Linked DNA regions of Homo sapiens: region 2 is linked to region 1. The links are contacts of gene promoters, found by promoter capture Hi-C in blood cells and fetal thymus (Javierre and others, 2016). All regions are on one chromosome and are shown on one strand. The core of a region is centred on a gene start or on the middle of the fragment in contact, and the rest is flanking DNA. Distances in the headings are between cores, read along the strand shown.

What was found. Contacts are between HindIII fragments. The CHiCAGO score rates a contact against its expected background, and 5 or more counts as called.
Region 2: a contact is called between a fragment that was not itself captured here and the fragment with the promoter of DPH5 in region 1, in 2 of 17 cell types (total B cells and naive B cells). The highest score is 10.1, in total B cells.

What each region holds. Positions count from the first base shown.
Region 1 is chr1:101,024,352-101,027,110 of GRCh38, reverse strand. It overlaps DPH5 (diphthamide biosynthesis 5), which reads left to right and starts at 1,327. Exons shown (of 8, transcript NM_015958.3): 1 at 1,327-1,428; 2 at 1,645-1,802. The coding sequence starts at 1,668. DPH5-DT (DPH5 divergent transcript) reads right to left here and starts at 1,265. Exons shown (of 5, transcript NR_109849.1): 1 at 1,050-1,265. RefSeq lists enhancers at 1,396-1,505, 598-1,797. The HindIII fragment of the contact is 3,765 bases long and covers 1-2,193 here.
Region 2 is chr1:101,438,617-101,441,375 of GRCh38, reverse strand. No RefSeq gene overlaps it. Among named protein-coding and RNA genes, the nearest start is that of LINC01307, 120 kb to the right of the region's middle. The HindIII fragment of the contact is 935 bases long and covers 933-1,867 here.

The DNA of each region.
Region 1 (2,759 bases), core at 78-2,577:
TTCTTTGGTGTCTATTCAAATCTTTTGCCCATTTTTAAACAACGAACTGTTTTATTATTGCTTTCTGAGTGCTCCTTATATATTCTCCATACAAGTCCTTCATCAGATACATGCTTTGTAAATATTTTCAGTATGTGGCTTCAAGTCTTTTGAAGAGCATAAATTTTTACTTTGTTGAAGTCCAATTTATCAATTTTTTTCATCACGCTTTTGGTTTAAGAAATATTTGCCTAAATAAGGTCACGAATATTTCCTCCTATGTTTTCTTCTGGTATAGGTTTAGGTTTTCCATTTACATCTACGATCCATTTTGAGTTTTTTGGGGTGTGTATGTGGTGTGAGGAATAGATCAACGTAATGAGAGGGGATAAAACACAGCCACGAAGAGTTTATAGATAGGAAGTGCAAAAAGGTGGATGGAACCTGGGAATGAAAAAAAGCCAAGGTTCAAGGAAGCGGAGTTGGGCATTGTCGGGGAGGCAACAGGAAAATTCTGAGTAACCAACACTGCCTGCTAAGAAAAGCAATGACAGCTGTCTTTTTTAACTTGGATGAGGTCACCTTGGGAAGAGCATTTTCAGTCAAAACAAATCTTCCCTATTTCTAATTACATGTAACCAACAGCTTTATAAGAATTCCCCCGGCAGAAACACTTGAGAGGTCTGAAATCCCTGAGCACTATTAAAGGTCACTTCTTTAGGTACAGGAAGGTCTGGGATTCCTGACACTGAGGGTGACTGAAACATCCTTGGGGCACTCCAGGCATAAGGTCTTGGGGACAAACCCAAGGAGTCATTGCCTTGTTGGGAAATCAGAAGCACACTCACTGCTGGGTTTGCCAATCTCACGCTTCACCAGGAAGACACCTAGTTGAACTACAGGAGGATGAGAAGACTGGAATTAAAATCTGTGCACTCGGCCAAATCCGGGGACAAATCAGGAAAATCCTTCCCAGCCCTCCCTGTTTCTGGAGAGGAGGAGTAGGGCGCAGGGCCCCTCCCGACTCTCTTCCACGTGGCTCCTCTCGAGCGAAGAGCTACTGCACTTACCCAGGCTTAGGAAGCGGGTGTTTAAGCCATGGGTTAGAGGGCTCGTGAGCACGCCCGATCCTTTCCCTGAGGCTATGAAACGGTGGCTCCACGGACTCCTCTCGGCCGACTGACCTTTCGCCGCCCTGCCCCAGCAGCCGGCGGGTTTCTTCAGTGGAGCCGGGCTCTGGTCTCCGCAGCCCAGTAGCCCGCTAGCCCGGCCCCCTCCCGCTAGTCGTAAAGTGCAGTAAAGGCACCAGCATTTTGCGGCACCGTAGGTGAGGCCGGCGGCGTGGGCCTTTTCTCTGCACGGAGCCGGCGCTTTTGCAGTTGCTTCTGCGGAAAGGTGGTAGTTAAGAATTTGTAAAGGCCAGAGAACTACCTACGATTCTCTCAGCGGGTAATTGGCTGCTCCTAGGTTTGTGTAACAAGAGGCAAAACTGGTAGGGTTGTTTAAAACCTCTTATCCCAGTTCTTAAGCGTGACATAAGGTTCCCAAACCCCTCCTTGTGACTTGCCTCTTCTCTTGTGCTACTTTGGTTGTCATCGTGTTCATCACTAGATTTTAGATGTCCTCGGTGTTACTGACGGTTTTTCTGTCCACTTCGTCTTGCAGTCTCTCTTCTCCTCAAGTTTGAAATGCTTTATCTCATCGGGTTGGGCCTGGGAGATGCCAAGGACATCACAGTCAAGGGCCTGGAAGTTGTTAGACGCTGCAGTCGAGTGTATCTGGAAGCCTACACCTCAGTCCTAACTGTAGGGAAGGAAGCCTTGGTAGGTGCTGAGCGTTCCCCAGCCTCCTGGGAAGAAAGCTATCTAACATCTGATTTTCATACACTAAGCTGAACAGAATTTTCAGGTCTGCTTGTTTAAACCCTTTGAAACGCATCCCTTGTTCATTAATGATCTGAGGAGCAGAAGAATGGAAATTTTACACCAACCAAGTGACTTGGAAAATGAAAGGGTGCTTTGTCCTATTTTACAAGTCTAATTTTGTGGCTTTCTCCAGTAAATAGGAAAGCTATTTTATACTCCTGGGGGATAGTTATCAAAACCCCTTATTTCATGAGGTAGTCAAGAAACCCTTTCTGAGTTGAGTGCTAATGAGGAGCTGACACAGCCTTAATGAGTTGGTTATATATATTCAAAAACCAAGCTGAAAGCTTCCCCCTTTGAAGTGTGTCCATAGGGAATGGCGATTGCCTTTTTGTATCCTATCCAGAGAGATCTTATCTTAAATAGACTATCTCCCAATAAGGCTTATACTGATACACTTGTATATATTGAGTGAGCCTGGACTTAATATATAAAAATGTATGAGTATACACTTACATGAGTATACACTAAGTAACCAAAGTATTTGTTAGTATATTATACATTTATAGTTGGCCCTCATAAGGGCCCAGTAAATTTGGGGGAAGGGTCAACTTCAGGTTCATTGTCAAACTCTAAGTAGAATGTAAATCAAAGGATTAATACATATGTTATGGGAGGAGGGAGCAGATTTATTGTCATGTCTTCCAAACAAAAAATAGACTTAAAATTTTTAGGCCTCAGATTACTTTAAAATCTTATAGAAGGAATTAAGAACTGCTACTTGAATTGGCCATGCATTTAAATAAAAGTTGTGTGTAAAGACCAACTTTGATATATACATATATGTGGAGAGAGAGAGAAAATAAGTCTTGCTCTGTTGCCCAGGCTGGGGTGCAATGGTATGATCATGGCTCA
Region 2 (2,759 bases), core at 151-2,650, 410 kb before region 1:
CTTTCATCCCGCACACCCTGTACTATCTGTGAGAAGCCAAGAAATTGACACAATTTTTCAGAGCTTGTTTCCTCAGACGTTACCAATAAAATGGGAGAAAAAAAAAACTCCTTGGGATTATTAGAAAATCAATGACATATAATGTGCAGTAGAACACAGCAAAGCACTGGACCAGAGTGAATAATAAATAATAAATAGAGTTGTCTGTCCTTGCCTTTCTTTTAACCAGCCTTCCAACCTCACAGATATGACTATACCAGCTCATATTGGATCACATGCTCCACATAAAATACTCTGTGTCTGTATATGCAGGACTATGAAAAAGGTATGCTTTGTGCATATGTTTGATGCCCTTAATTGCAGCTTCTTCCAGACTGCTTCTTATTTTCTCCCACCTTCTAATCTGGCAGTACTTTAGAGGGTTCAAATTGGCTCTGACCCTAAAATAACTTACTTTTGCTTCTGATAGTCCATAACAAGAAACATTTTTATGGAATATAATGGAGAGCTGGCAGCAGGCTGAGAATCTAACACAAGACTTTAAATGCTGCAGTTATCCATCAGTCACACTATAGAGCAGGTCACGCATAATAAACAGCTGCTTTATTAGGTTGATGGAGTATGCAGCAAATACAAAATGACGGAAAGCAGCTACAGACCAGAAGCTGAGAAGTCGCAGGAAAATGTGCTGGTGTGGGCCAATTCATGGATGCCATTGACAATCATGCCAGAGATCAGTTCTGACCAGCACACATTTCTATACTGGGAAGCCCCGGGACATTCCAAGCGCAAGAGCCAACCATCCCTGCAGGGAGGACAACCAGTATCCAGACCAAACTCTTCTGTCAGTTGGCTGCAAAATCTACTTTTCTCAATACTGAGATGCTACTAAATAAACATGTAACATGAATAAAGATAAACTATTAAAAGCTTATTTTCATGTTAAATTAGCAAGGATATTTGGGGATTTGTTTCATGGCTTTAATCCAGGCATATTCCTCCCTCATCTTTTTTTGAAATAGACTCAAGTTCTGTTTCTGACTTTATCCTGGGAGCATTTGTTTGTGACATGCAGAAAATGGGAACTGAATAGCCAGCAAGCCAAAAAGGGCAGACGATGCAAAGTCTATAAGGCAAAATGGAATGTGGGGAACAATTAGACGGCTCAAACTCTTCTCCTTCTGAGCACCACTGCATTTCCTTTTATTCATATTGTTTTACTAACCATCCCCCACCCCATAGGAGGAAAGGGATCAAAAGCTCATCAGCTATGCTAGCTTGAGAGTTGTAATCCCGACAAGCCAGCTAAAAAGTACACAAGTTTTTAAGTATATGCAAATGTGCACTGGTTCCTCTACTAATCTTATTTTGCCTTCTTTTTTAAGAATACTTTTTGGTTTTTTTTCAGACAGGGTCTTGCTCTGTCACCCAGGCTGGAATGCAGCAGTGGGATCTCTGCTCACTGCAACCTCCACCTCTAGGGTTCAAGCAATTCTCCTGCCTCAGCCTCCTGAGTAGCCGAGATTACAGGCGGATGCCACCACACCCAGCTAATGTTTTTGTATTTTTAGTAGAGATGGGGTTTCACTATGTTGGCCAGACTGGTCTTAAACTCCTGACCTCAAGTGATCCACCCACCTCGACCTCCCAAATTGCTGGGATTACAGGTGTGAGCCACCACGTCCAGCCTAGAATATAATTTTTTAATGTGATTCCATTTTATACTATGCCATTGTGACTTTGTGATCCATAAGGATGTCACAGAAAAACATACTATTGAAATCATGAGATTATAAGAGTATATGCTTAAGACTACGTCCAGCCAAATTACAGTTGATCATTTCATGGGGGAAAAAAAAAGAAAGCTTTTGCTCGTTGATCTATGCTTTTTCCATCTTAAAATTCCTTATGTTAGTATTTCAAGTCAATTTTTGTTTCCCTGCATAATCCAAGCAATTGCCACAATTTTCCATTTTACTTTGCAAATATTCATACATCAGGCATAACATTTTGCAATGATCTATCACAACCAGTTAAGTCTGTCTCTATAAACAGTAACTTTATTTTCTGAACCAAAAACAGGCCACCTGGGCTGCTGGGAGGGCAGAGTGCTTTACACCCAGCCTGTATCCCTGATTCACTCCCTTCTCCATCAAATAAGTATTCAAAACTGCCACTAGTGTTATCTTTCTAAACTGGAAATCAAATCAAGTCACTCCCATGCTTCAAACCTCTTGATGTCTTCTCTTTTTCTGTAAGATAAAATCTAAACTTCTTGGTTGAACAAGCAAACCCCCAAATAGCCAGGCTCAAGCCATCTCTTTCTGAAAAGAGAATCCACTTCATAAGCCCTTCCATCCAGCCATTCTCAACTTCTTGCCCTGGCTTAACGCAGCCTTTTCCAGATTTCATATCTTTGTACCGGCTATTCTTTCTGTGGAAATATTCTTACTCACTCCCAGTCCCCCTCACCCCCACCCATACACACACTCACTTCTACTTATTCTTCAAGACAGATTCCAATGTCTCCTCAGGGTATCTTTCCAAGACTTTCCCAGGCAGTTAGTTGTTTCTTAACAAGTTATTTGTGCCTATATCAAAGCACTCACAACATTTTATATCAATTTATCTATTTATACATTTATGTCTCCTTCTAAGCTATAGCTCTCTACAGTTTTAAGTAGACTATTTTGATGGATAACTCCAAATTGTAACTGTCTGCTGGAAGCTGGAGACTATTTTTGCCTCAGGCTCATGAG